Regions from separate parts of the Homo sapiens genome. Here regions 1 and 2 are each linked to region 3. Evidence: promoter capture Hi-C in 16 types of primary human blood cells and fetal thymus (Javierre and others, 2016). All regions are on one chromosome and are shown on one strand. Each heading gives the region's core, a stretch centred on a gene start or on the middle of the fragment in contact. The rest is flanking DNA. Distances are from core to core; before and after follow the strand shown. Region 1 has its middle 43 kb from the start of CRNN. Region 2 has its middle 16 kb from the start of TCHHL1. Region 3 holds the start of FLG (filaggrin).

Region 1 (4,584 bases), core at 1,878-4,377, 130 kb before region 3:
TACTACTCCCACCCACATATCCCAGCTTTTATCTATTCTGTTTACTGCTGTATCTCTAGAGTCAATAACACTGACTGGACATCGTAGACACTCAACAAATACTTATCAGTTTTATGAATGAATGGATGCATGGATAGATGCTCTTCCATCTTCAAAAATCAAATATCATCTGTCAAACAGAGAGAGCAGGTGTTAAGGTCAAAGGCGATCCCTTATGTGAAAGGGCAGGTGGAGGAGGAAGCACTGCACCATGGAAAACTGTGTTCCAGGTGGTTGCCAAGAATACTCAGAAGTTAGAGATGAAGGGCTGCCCCAGACACAGCCTTGGGGCCCAAGATTCATACTGCTGTTAGAGGGGCACAAACTTGCTGGGTTTTGACTCTGGGAGGAAAACCACGTGTGGGGTCTTAAGCGGGGCCCTGTGTCTTTGGGGATTCACATTTGTTGCACCCAACTATACTCTGGAGCTTCAGAAATCAATGGAAGTTGCTCTGGATTCAAAAATCAATAGAAGTTGCTCCCTTCCCTGGAGATGCCCACGGTCAACCTTTGTCTTTTGGAGTCAGGCTAACCTGAAGTTGAATCCCAGCTCTACCACCATTGAGTTATGACCTTGGACAAATCACGTAAATTATCTGAGTTTACACTTCTATACATGGCAATATTAGTGGCCACTTTTCAGCAGACTGCCTACACACAGTGTGAATTTGAGAAATACTAGTTCCCTTACCGTTCCGTCTTCCATCTCTGAAACTTCGCTGGAGCTCCATCTTCTTGAGACATGGCGATGCATTTCAGGAGTTTCCCTGAAGAGGGAGCCAGAGCACCACGGAAATCCTAATTGTTGGCTGACAGCAGTCAGCGCAGGGAAGCTTATGGGCACAGCCAGTCAGCAAGTCTTTTGGGTCCAGACCTCGGCTTCCTCTCTCTCAATGCCTTCTATCAAAACCCCCCCACCTTGTGCCAAGTGCTGCTCACAGTCTGCCAAGCAGCTCCCCTATCTCAGGCTCTACCTAGTCAAAATGATCTTTCAATCAAAATTCCAATTTTCTTTTCAGTCACTTTATATAGCTGTTGTCATAGTAAGTGACAACTTGGTTTAATAAAGCCAGTTGTGCCAGGATGTTGCTAGGTAATATTTGCTACTTCTAGGTAACGTGTATATTTTAACAGGTGCCTTCTGATGATACATATGGGGACAGGTAGGCATTCCAAATGCTGAGATCCAGTGCCACTCACCTTTAGACCACCCTGCATTCCATGGGCTATACTTAATATTTGGTGCTTACCCACAGTAAGCTTACATTAGGTTGAACACATAAAATTGTTCATAATCCACCATTTTACCTACAAAACAACAATTTCATATGGTCCAAAATAATATTTCACTTCTTCACCCCCACTCAATTTCAGTGTAGACTCCAGGTCTTTTTTTTTACTTTCCCCATCACATTTTTGCCCTCAAGCACTGTTTTCACTCTTGTTATATTCCCCCCCTCCAGCCCTACCTCAGTTTCCAGTTCCTACACCTTGCCTAGGCCACACCTCACCCTTGCAGGGCATCTCCCTGCTGAGGCAGCTGCTGTGATGGGATTGGTCCCACCTGCCATCTCCAAAATGAGCACAACAGGGCTTTGTCCAGCCAAGAACATAGGGCTCCAGCTCCTCCCATACCACAATATCCCATGAGCACTCTCTCAGTCTCCCAGCAAACTTCTCTGCCCTCGCAGACTCTGGAGTGCCAGTCCCATCGAGTAACTATCTGAAACCCTTTGAGTCTAATTGTCTTCAGATGTGAAATGTAAAAGGACAATGCACACCACATAAGGTTGACATAAGGAATGACTGGCGTAATGGTTGTAAAAAGCCTAGCACTGTGCCTGGCAGATGGCAGTCATTCTGCAAGGTACAGTTGCCCTCTCAGAACCTAGGCATGGTGTACAAGACCAAAGCCCCCAAAGCAACTCATTGTCCTGTCCACCTCTTCCTAAAATGCCATGTTATTGTTGCACCCCCATAGGCACCATTTTGTCAAGTGTGGTCTGGTCCTATTCTCCAAGCACTCTGTATCACACACTCCTGTGATTGCCACAGCATGGGGCAGGGCTGGCCTGGTAACTCCCTAAGGGACTAAGTCCTGCCTCACCAACAGTCTTCTATTCTGTCCTGGGCCCCTGAGATTCTGCCCTTCCACACAACAAGAGTAGTGACTGTGATACCAGAACCACATGACATGTTAAATAAAGAGGCTCTGTAAAGAGGAGCAGAGAGATGTGTGCCCCGGAGGGGAGGGAGGTGGTCAGGCTGGGGGTGAAGAGTGGTGGGACTTGGCCCTAGGAACTCCTGCCCTTTTGTCCTCCTTCCTGCCATACCCTCTCCTGTGTGTTCTTAGCATCTCACCCCCACTCCTCATCTCTCCAGTTCTAAAACAGTCTGTCAAGGCTTCTGGAAGTGGAGAGAGACCCAGGCTGGTTATGGAGGGATTATAAGGAACTGCTAAACACAAAAGACAATGGTCAGCCTCACCCAGACAAAGGCAAATGCCTGTCTTAGTGGGGAGATTGCATGTTCATCCAATTTGAAATTTTAAACAGATGTATAACTCTAAATACTTTAGAATTACAATGTTAGGTTGTGATTTTGAAAAATACCAGAAAAAATGGTATTATGCTAGCAAAAATATAAAGTGGAAATTTCCTCTTCCAATGGGAATGGAGTTACAGGGATGGATTTATCCTGTAACCTGAAACAACTACATAATCTGACAAGCTATAGTTGGCCTTCCTTATACTTGACTTCTACATCCATGGATTCAACCAACCATGGATCAAAAACATTTGAAAAAATACAATAAAAATACAATTTAAAAATACAGTATAACAACCATTTACATAGCATTTACATTATATTAGGTATTATAAGTAATCTAGAGATGTTTTCATGTCTACAGGAGGATGTGCATAGGTTATATGCAAATATCTTGCCATTTTACGTGAGGGATTTGAGCATCTCCAGATTTTGGCATCTTCAAGGGTCTTGGAACAAATCCCTCGTGAATACCAAGGAATGGCTATATAAAAAGAACAATAGTTTTCAAGACCATGAACCTGAAGCAATGCAGGACCATGATGTTTGCAAGATGAAACAAAATGAGCTGAACCCTAGGACTGTCCTGGCCTCCTCCCGGCAAAGGGTTTCCAGGCTGTGACTCAGGGAGCGGAAACTGGCAGAGTCCAGTGGACTCTCAGGATTGAATAAATGGAACTGGATCCTAAAAGACCAAGGCAGCTAGAGTTTTCAAGACAGACTACTAGCCTAGCTGTGGGGAAAAGAAAGAGAGATCAGACTGTTACTGTGTCTATGTAGAAAGAAGTAGACATAAGAGACTCCATTTTGTTGTGTACTAAGAAAAATTCTTCTGCCTTGAGATGCTGTTAATCTGTAACCCTAGCCCCAACCCTGTGCTTGCAGAGACCTGTGATGTGTTAACTCAAGGTTTAATGGATTTAGGGCTATGCAGGATGTGCTTTGTTAAACAAGTGCTTGAAGGCAGTATGCTTGTTAAAAGTCATCACTACTCTCTAATCTCAAGTACCCAGGGACACAATACACTGCGGAAGGCCGCAGGGACCTCTGCCTAGGAAAGCCACATATTGTCCAAGGTTTCTCCCCAAGTGATAGCCTGGGATATGGCCTCATGGGAGGGGAAAGACCTAACCATCCCCCAGCCCAACACCCGTAAAGGGTCTGTGCTGAGGAGGATTAGTAAAAGAGGAAGGCCTCTTTGCAGTTGAGATAACTCTGAGGAAGGCATCTGTCTCCTGCTCATCCCTGGGCAATGGAATGTCTCGGTGTAAAACCCAATTGTATGTTCCATCTACTGAGACAGGAGAAAACCACCTTATGGCTGGAGGTGAGACATGCTGGTGGCAATACTGCTCTTTAATGCACCAAGATGTTTATGTATTGGCACATCAAAGCACAGCACCTTTTTCTTAACCTTGTTTATGACACAGAGACATTTGTCACATGTTTTCCTGCTGACCTTCTCCCCACTATTACCCTATTGTCCTGCCACATCCCCCTCTCTGAGATGGTAGAGATAATGATCAATAAATACTGAGGGAACTCAGAGACCAGTGCCGGCGCGGGTCCTCCGTATACTGAGCGCCCGGTCCCCTGGGCCCACTTTTCTTTCTCTATGCTTTGTCTCTGTGTCTCTTTCTTTTCTCAGTCTCTCGTCCCACCAGACGAGAAACACCCACAGGTGTGGAGGGGCAGGCCACCCCTTCACCTAGCAAGGCAAGAGCTAGAGAGAGAAGGGGGCAGGGGAGCCCTGACAATCAGGAACAGCCTCCCCTCAGATCCTTAGCTGAGTTATGATCAGCACCTGTATGTGAGGAAACTACCTGAGGCAGAGGATGGACCTCCCTGCAGGAATGAAAGCGAATAATCCCAGGATCACCCCGAGTTAGGAAGAACCCCTGTTCCTAACAGCTAGAGTAGAAAACATCATAATTTATTGGATACTGGGTAGAGTACTCAGAAAGGTTTTGCCTCAGTGGTGTAGTAAAATTGGTCCTA
Region 2 (4,283 bases), core at 945-3,444, 250 kb after region 3:
CCAGACACAAAAGCCTTCATACTGAGTGGCTGCATTTACATAAAGTTCAAAACCAACAACCAAAAGAAAACCCTAATCTATGGCATTAGAAGTCAGGATAATGGTACCACTAGGGAGGAGGGAAGGGGAAGAACATGGGGACTTTCAGAGTCCTGATTAATGTTCTATTTCTTGATTTGGGCAGTGGTTACATGGAAGTGTTTACTTTGTAATAATTCATTGCTGTACACTTATGATCTGAATATTCTTCAATAAGAAAATGTGTTTAAAGAGAATAAGTGGAACAATACATATGAAAGTGCCCAGCAAACCACCTGGAATTAGTAGATGCTTAATATGTATCTGTTTACTATTTAACATTGAAGCTGGAATAGTACCAAATATGAGAGACACTTTATTCATCTATTAACTTAACAATTGACCACCTATTAAACTATGTATACAGGGTATATGGTGATTAACAAAATAGACAATTCATAATAGCTTTCACCGAGTTACATATTGAAGTCAGATCCTTAATTTTTTTATGCCCACTGAATAAAACCTCCTCATTCATGTGCTCAATTTTTGCCAAAACTATAAGAAATACATATGTGAAACTTACCACTTCTTTGGCTGTCAAAATGCTGTTGAGAACTTTATCCATTTTATCATGCAGTACTCACCTTTATAAAGTCCCCATGAGATATTCTTTTTAGAATTCAGTCCTGAGAAATGCTCTCTTTTGCCACAAAAAGCGTACATAGTTATCTTACTTTCTGATTGTGAAGGCCATAAAACTGATGGTGTTTTCCTTTGGGAATTGCTGTCAGAAATCCCTGAGCCAAGAATGAAGAGTAATAACAGCAATTGTGTTGACCCTCATGGTTGACAAATTTGAATTTTCCTTTTTCCTAGTTCTTATTTTCTACCTTTTTTATTTAACCACTTTACTGTATATGATAAGCTGCTTCAAATCTATATGAAGAGGCTGTAAATGAATAACACTAAAAAGGGAAAATTAAGTCTCTCTGAAAGACTATAAGTAGTGGATAAAGACATACTTTGGTTTATATACAGTGATATATGTTTCTAGTTTTACAACCACTCTTAATGCCAGGAATATATTTGTCAGAATCTAGGTTAGGAAGGTGGAAGAAAGAGCCACGGACATTCAGACACCAGTCAGAGATATCACACCCTGCAAGGAGAACCCAGAATTTTACATAAGGACCCAAATGCATCTTCCAACAGCCACATCCACTCTGTCCTTAGAGTCAATCTACCTCATCAGGATTTGCCATCACTAATCAATCAGTCAATAAGCAGTTAATGACCACACACTGTGACTCCCCCATTGGCAACCTTTAGTTCTTTTTTGGAACAATAAACAAATAATCACTAATGGAACCCAGACGCATTTCAAGTGTTAAGTAGTTAAGAAGAAGAACAAAATTTGATTTCTACCCCCAAGTAGCTCACAATATAATTAAGACAAGACCTGCTCATGAAACAACTGGAGAGCACACAACTCAGGGCATGTATAAAGCTTCATCATCCAACTCCTGCCAAATGCCTCAGTGCAGGCCTGGCTGGGCATGGCACCCATAATCAGTGTAGAAACTTTTTTTTCAGGGGGGCAAAATATGGTAGTTAGAGTTGTTGATTTGTTTTTCAACAAATATTTACTACATGACTACCACCTGGTAAGCAATTTCTAGGTGTTGGGAATAAAGCGGTGAACAAAGCAGACCAAGTTCCCGCCCTCATGTTTCTACATTCTAATGGGGAAAATAGAAAATAAACAGATAGACAAACAATTGTATACTAACTCATGTGGGATAAATGTTAGGGAGAGTAAAAAGCAGAGTAGGAGGGTAGGGAGGGAGTCAGGGGAAGTGGGAGTGTTGCTGTTTAAGAGAGGAAGGTCAGATGACACCCGAACAGAGACCTGCAGAAGGTGAGAAAGGAAACCATGCACTTCAGAAAAGAGCACTTCACAGAGGAAACGGCACGTACTAAGGCCTGGAGATGGGCATGCCTAGCACATTCAAGGAACAACAAGGAGGATAGTATGGTAGGAATGTCATAAGCAATGATGGTGACAGTGGGAAAAGAGGAGGTCAGCGAAGTGTGGACCCAACCAAGTCACCAGGGAAGGCTCCCAGGAGAAGATGGAGCTTGGCCAGCAGGGATGGGCCTGGTTCCTCTCAGGCCGAAAGGACCAGCATTAACAAAGGCATGGAGGCAGGCGAGAGGGTGTGGTGCTCAGAGAGCCAGGAGTACAGTCAGTCCTATTCCAGATATGGGCAAACAGGAGAGAAGCCTGGATGGTGAGGAGGGCCTGTGATGGAGTCTCCTAAAAACAGCCATAAACCTTATTTCTTGAGGGCTTGTCAAAGCACTGAGATAGGAGTTGCAACCCCAGCACTGTCCTTTCCACAAGGACCCATCCTAGGCACCATTTTAAGGAAAGAAAGTAAAAATAGAGAAGAGAATTTGAAGAAAAGATGGAATTCTTCCATCACTATCGATATATGTCTGGGTGTGTATGTTGCCTAAAGGGGCCAGCAGGCTTCATGACAACATTAGGATTGTCCAGAACCTTCAGAAAATATCACATGCATTTCTTCCTGACCTCCACAAACCACTGAAGGAGAAACCGGGGAATGTTTCAGAGCCAACTCTGAGGGTGGCTGATGACACACAACTACCCCTGAAGGGACCCCCAAGAAGGTGGACAGGAGTTTCTTTGAGGTCCATGTCTGGGCAAGTGGAGCATGAGGATGAGGCTACCTGGAGGCTGAGACAGGGAGCTTGAGGCAGACAGGAAGCCTCTCAGGAGCAATGCTTCTTTGCTGAGCCCTTTAGATCAAGCTTAAAGCTCAGGCGTTTTTGTAAAGCCATGAGAATATTCTGGTTTCCACTGGGTGGGTTGAGGTGGTTTTGAAACACAGAATCTGAAACTTGCCCAGCCGAGTTACTAGCTCTATTTGAGTAAACTGCAGGACAATAATTTTTCTCAAACAAGCGTTTAGTTAACTGTTCCTCACCATTCCCCTCACTTCTCCATGATTCTATTCCAGGCCTGGGAGTGGTGTGGAATCAGATCAAGGAGTTCATGTGGTTTCTGGTCTCAAGAAGCATATGATCTGGCCCAGGAGATGAGGCTAAACCACAGAAGAAAACCATGTGGAGACTTGCGTACCATGTCCACCTTGGTTTTCTCTACTTCTAAAGACGGAAAAGCTCAGAAAGAAAAACACCAAACTGATAATGGTCATTGCCTCTGAGAAAAGTAAAAGGGAATCAGGAGAGACAGTAGTAGTCAAAGAAGTCTTAGATGTCATCAAGTAATGTTTCAATTTTTTCAAGGATCAGGAACGTATGTATTATTTGTGTATAAATAAAAATTACTTTGAGATCTATAATTACTTCCATATGTTTTAATCACAAACAAGAAAATCATACCCCATACTGATTTGGGTCTTACTTAAAATCCTTAACAATCATAGTTTCAGAAAAAGGTCCTGATACATAAGGAAAATCAGTTAAATGTTAACATTCTTTGGCCACTGGGTTTATTATCTTCTTCTAAGAAAGACACAAGGGATGAGAATTTTCTGCTTTTTTCCATTTTCTGATCAAGAAAAGCTTGACTGAGCTGACCAAGAACATGTCAAGGATCTGAGAGTCCCCCGCCATGCCCCAGTTCATTCAGTTACATCCCTTCCTAATTGGGAACATGTTTAGGGGAGCCTACATTTCTGTAATTACTGGCCCCAGTGTATTTTTAAAAGCCTCATTCAGATGGAACAAATTCTTTGCATTTAATCATGCTGAACCTCATAATAAACATAATAACTGGGATTTGCACGGTGCTTTTCTTCAGAATGAGCTTAAAACACATTATAATCCAGTGCTTCCCTGAGCCACACCGTATCCTTATGACACATCCAAGAAATGGTGACCACTAGATCCCACTGCTGAGGCTCAGAGGGATTTGGTAAGATGCCTGAGGTCACAGAGCAGGCAAAGTCCAAATGTGCACTCAGGATAGCCACCCCAGCAGCAACTCCTCCAATCACCAAGCTTCTCCTACAGACAACTTGATGCCTTCAAATGACTCTGGCAGTCTCCTCTTATCTGTAATCATGGCTGTGGACACTTTCCAGGAAACTCCTCCCAGGCAGTGTCAAGACAAACCTTGACGCTGAGGGGCAAAGACCACGTCATCAGAAGAGTGTCACCACAGAAGTCATTCTGTCACCATTGCACATGGACTCTGGGTCAGAAAATGTCCT
Region 3 (3,982 bases), core at 827-3,326:
CTTGGTGACCTTGGGTGCCTTATCAGTATCAGTTCCCTCATCTCTAAAATAGAGGAATAATAATGACCTCAAAGGGTTGTCCTGATGATTAAAATTAATACACGCAAAATCTTAGCACATTCCTAGCACATAATGGGTATACAATATAGATTACTATCATTATTACATCATGGTAGAGACAAAAATGCAATAACTACTGGCATAAAAAAATTAGACCCAAGAAGAAAAAAGGAGAAAATGAATATCTGTGTTCTACAGATGTTAACCAATACTCCACAAAAGAAAGAATCAATGGTCTAATAAGGTTAAGAACGAGGACATTAAACACAGTTTTAAAAACTCGGGCATATTTTTATCTCTTTGACTCTGAACAAGATTGGCACACCCTTGCATCCCTTATTTGATCATGTCCCAGGCATTGCTGTAGGGCCCAAGGACACAAAGGATGACTCAGACCCAGTCAATGCTAGGGTGAGAAGAAACACAGGATTCAAGGCACCAGGGGGCAGGGGGCACACATATAAATAAGTAATTAATATAAAATATCACCAGTGCTATTGAGAGGTAAATACAGAGTATGTGAGGGAACACTGATAAATCTGGAGATGTCAGGTAAGGCTTTATGCAGGAGGTGGTAATTTTGAAGAATCTTAAAAGATAAAGAGAAGTTAAGGATGAGGGTCTCTCAAGTCAAGGTAGTGGAGGATAGCACGCAAAGATTTTGAACAGTAGTGGACCAATATGGGCTCGTCCAAGAAATATTGCTCATTCTAGAGTGACTTTTCCATGAGATACAGGTAATAAGAGGGACAATTGAAAAGATACAGATTCATGCCTATTGTAAAGGGGCTTGTACGTCAGGTAAAAAAGTCTGAAATTCTGCAGGCAAGAAGAAACCAGCACAGCGAATGACATAAGATGGTAAGCCAGCTTAATAGTAGAGAGAGAGGCTAGTTACGACACTTTTTTTTCTTTACCAATACCCAATTGAAAGATGGTCAGGTCCAGAACTAAAATTATAGCACTGGAGGTAGAGAATAGGCCTACATAACAAAATCTAAGCCTGAGTATAATTGATACGATGTGACATGAGCATGAGGGGTTAAGGAAAAGGAGAAATGAAAATGACTTTGTCTAGCTTGAGACACCCAGTGTGTGGGGGCATCATTACCAATATATGGGCTTCTGGAGGATAGTACATTTTGGTAGGAGGCACAATGTAAGTTCAGTTTTCAACACTATGGATTGAGATAACCATGGGACATCCATATGGAGATGCAATCTGCTCAACATAACAGTGTGTATATCATAAGACAGACCAGGGATAGGAGTCCCCTGTATATTTATGGCAATAAAAGAAAATTCATGGTTTAAGAAGGAAGAGTATGTGGAACATGTCTCTGATGCCACGATGTAATAACCTTGAAAACAAAGTAAAATTACACTAATGAGTCTTGCCTAATTAAACTCATGCTCCTAGTGATCACCACTTCTAGTTCAATTGTTCACATTCTTGCTCTGCTTTGAAAAATTAAAATTAAATTTGCCTATCCTCTACTGACCATAATTTCTAGAAGACGGCATTCATCTCATGGCAAGTTCTTCAGTACCCAAAGATGGAATACATAGATTAAAAAAGAACATATATGTAGATGCTTGTGATGTTTTCCTATCATAAATTGAATTTCAAGTTCTTATAAACGTATTAATATGTCCTACTCTTCTAGAGACAAGGATCAGGAAGTGTATTTATCAATAGATATTTACCAAGCACCTGTCAAGCCAAAGTGGGGTTACAGAAAAGTAGGTATGGGCCCTGCACACAAACAACCTGTATTAGCCAAAGGGACCCTTCCATAAAATTTCCAATATGTAAACCCAAATTTGGAACTTGCTGAAACAAGTACAGATGAGTACGTGAGGAAGCTGGGAAGTAAACACAGGTTGCTGGAGAAATAGAGGTGGAGATATGGGTGGATCTAGGTTTGGTTAGGAATGAATCAGACCATCCCACAGAGGGTGGCTCCTCCCTGCATGGGGCCTGCTATAAAAGGGCCATTATCTCAGCCTTCAGTACCCAGCAGGCTCCTTCAGGCTACATTCTATTTGCTCTTTTGGTGAACAAGGTAAGAAGGAATACATTTAATTTTGTCTACTTACTATTAACCAAGGTGGAAATCTGAATGTATGTGTACTGTAAGGCAAAAGGTTCTGGAAGTTTAGGGTTTTTCTCTTTCTTTTTAGTGGCACTGTCACTAAAAGGTTTATTTCTATATAGAAGGAAAATGAGGGCATAAATTTGCTTTCCATGGAGCTACTCAATACTCTGTATTGTTAGATTGTCCATTTATTCATTTACTTAACAAATATGTATTAACTACCTTCTACTTGGTCTTGGCTCTATCTATGCAGCAGTGAACTATATAAACTCCTAGCAGCTTACCTTTAATAGGGGGAAACATTTAGTAAACAACAATAAACAAATAAGATAATTTTAAATAGTGATAAGAACAATGAAGAAAATAAAAGAGTGATGTAGTAGAGCAGGGGTGTCCCGTCTTTTGGCTTCCCTGGGTCATAATGGAAAAAGAATTGTCTTGGGCCACACATAAAACACACTGACACTAATAATAGCTGATAAGCTTAAAAAAAAACTCGTAATGTTTTAAGAAAGTTTACAAATTTGTGTTGGGCCACATTCAAAGCTGTCCTGGGCCACAGATTGGACAAGCTTGTAGTAAAGTGATGGGAGGGAGGAGGAAAGTGCTTTAAATTAGATGGCCAGGGGAAGACCTCTCTAGGGAATTATCTTTGAGTTGAGATCTTAAACACAAAAGAAACTAGCCAAGGCAAAGGGCAAGATTCTAAGCAAGAGTAAACTTGTCCCAAAGAGCAAAAAGAAGCTAGTGTGCCTTAGAGCATACATAGTTAAAAAGAGGACCAGTGGTATATGGTGATGTCAGAGAGCTAGACAGCGTAGCTCATGTAAAGAGGGGCACAGTAGAATTAAAACAGTACATGTTAGATTTTAGCATGTACTTAAAGGGGTATTAAGCAGGAGGAGTAAGATAATCTATGTTTTTAAAAGACCACTCTGGGCTGCTACGTGGAAAACAGGAATATAGGAAGGCAAGAGCAGGAGCAGGGAGAGACTGCATTCTTTTATGTGAAAGATGATGGAAATAATAGAAATAACGAGAAATAACTGTTTGCTCATACCAAAATCTAGAAGTTATCCATGATTCCTGTTTTCTCATCACACTGATTCATCACCACGTCCAGTCAACTCTGCCTACAAACCTGCCAAATCTATCCATTTATCCCCCTCTCTGCCATTATCATCCTAGTCCAGTCTACCTTCATCTCCCAACACTGACTATTATGTTATCTGAAAATATAACAATTTATTCATCCATTTGTCTATGGGTAGATACTTGGGTCTCTTCCATTTTGGGGGGTATTATAAATAATAGGGCTATGCACTTTTTTGTGTACTACTTTTGGTTACACATATGTACATATTTCAGTTGGGAATATTCCTAAGAGTAAATCGCTAGGACTTAGATACTGTCAAACAATTTTCCAAAGTGCTTCTGTCACTTTATGTGCCTCCAGCAGTACATAAAAAAAAAAAAAATCTCAATTCTCCACATTCTCACCAATATTTGGTATTGTCAAGGATTTTTTTCTTTCTTATCTTTTTAGTCACTTTGGTGGGTGTATTGAGGTCTCACACGTTATTTCAATTTGCATTTCCCTAGTGCATAACAAGGTTGAGAAGTTTTGATATGTTTATTGGCCATTTGGATATCCTTTTCTGTAACGTTCCTAAGGTATTCATTTTTCCATTGAGTTAACTGTATTTTTTATTGATTTATAGAAGCTATTTTTATATTCAGGACAGATTCCTTTATTGGTTAAATGTGTTTTGTATATCCTCCCACTGTGTGGCTTGTACATCTCTCTTCTAATGCTATCTTTA

Evidence for each region. Contacts are between HindIII fragments. The CHiCAGO score rates a contact against its expected background, and 5 or more counts as called.
Region 1: a fragment that was not itself captured here is called in contact with the fragment with the promoter of FLG in region 3 in 2 of 17 cell types (total CD4 T cells and activated CD4 T cells); the score reaches 6.3 in total CD4 T cells.
Region 2: a contact is called between a fragment that was not itself captured here and the fragment with the promoter of FLG in region 3, in 5 of 17 cell types (total CD8 T cells, naive CD8 T cells, non-activated CD4 T cells and 2 more). The highest score is 5.6, in total CD8 T cells.

Annotation. Positions count from the first base shown.
Region 1 is chr1:152,454,818-152,459,401 of GRCh38, reverse strand. No RefSeq gene overlaps it. Among named protein-coding and RNA genes, the nearest start is that of CRNN, 43 kb to the right of the region's middle. RefSeq lists an enhancer at 815-884. The HindIII fragment of the contact is 3,652 bases long and covers 1,302-4,584 here.
Region 2 is chr1:152,071,138-152,075,420 of GRCh38, reverse strand. No RefSeq gene overlaps it. Among named protein-coding and RNA genes, the nearest start is that of TCHHL1, 16 kb to the left of the region's middle. The HindIII fragment of the contact is 1,328 bases long and covers 1,531-2,858 here.
Region 3 is chr1:152,323,333-152,327,314 of GRCh38, reverse strand. It overlaps FLG (filaggrin), which reads left to right and starts at 2,076. Exons shown (of 3, transcript NM_002016.2): 1 at 2,076-2,126. The region is part of intron 3 of CCDST (cervical cancer associated DHX9 suppressive transcript); the gene reads right to left. The HindIII fragment of the contact is 6,016 bases long and covers 1-2,644 here.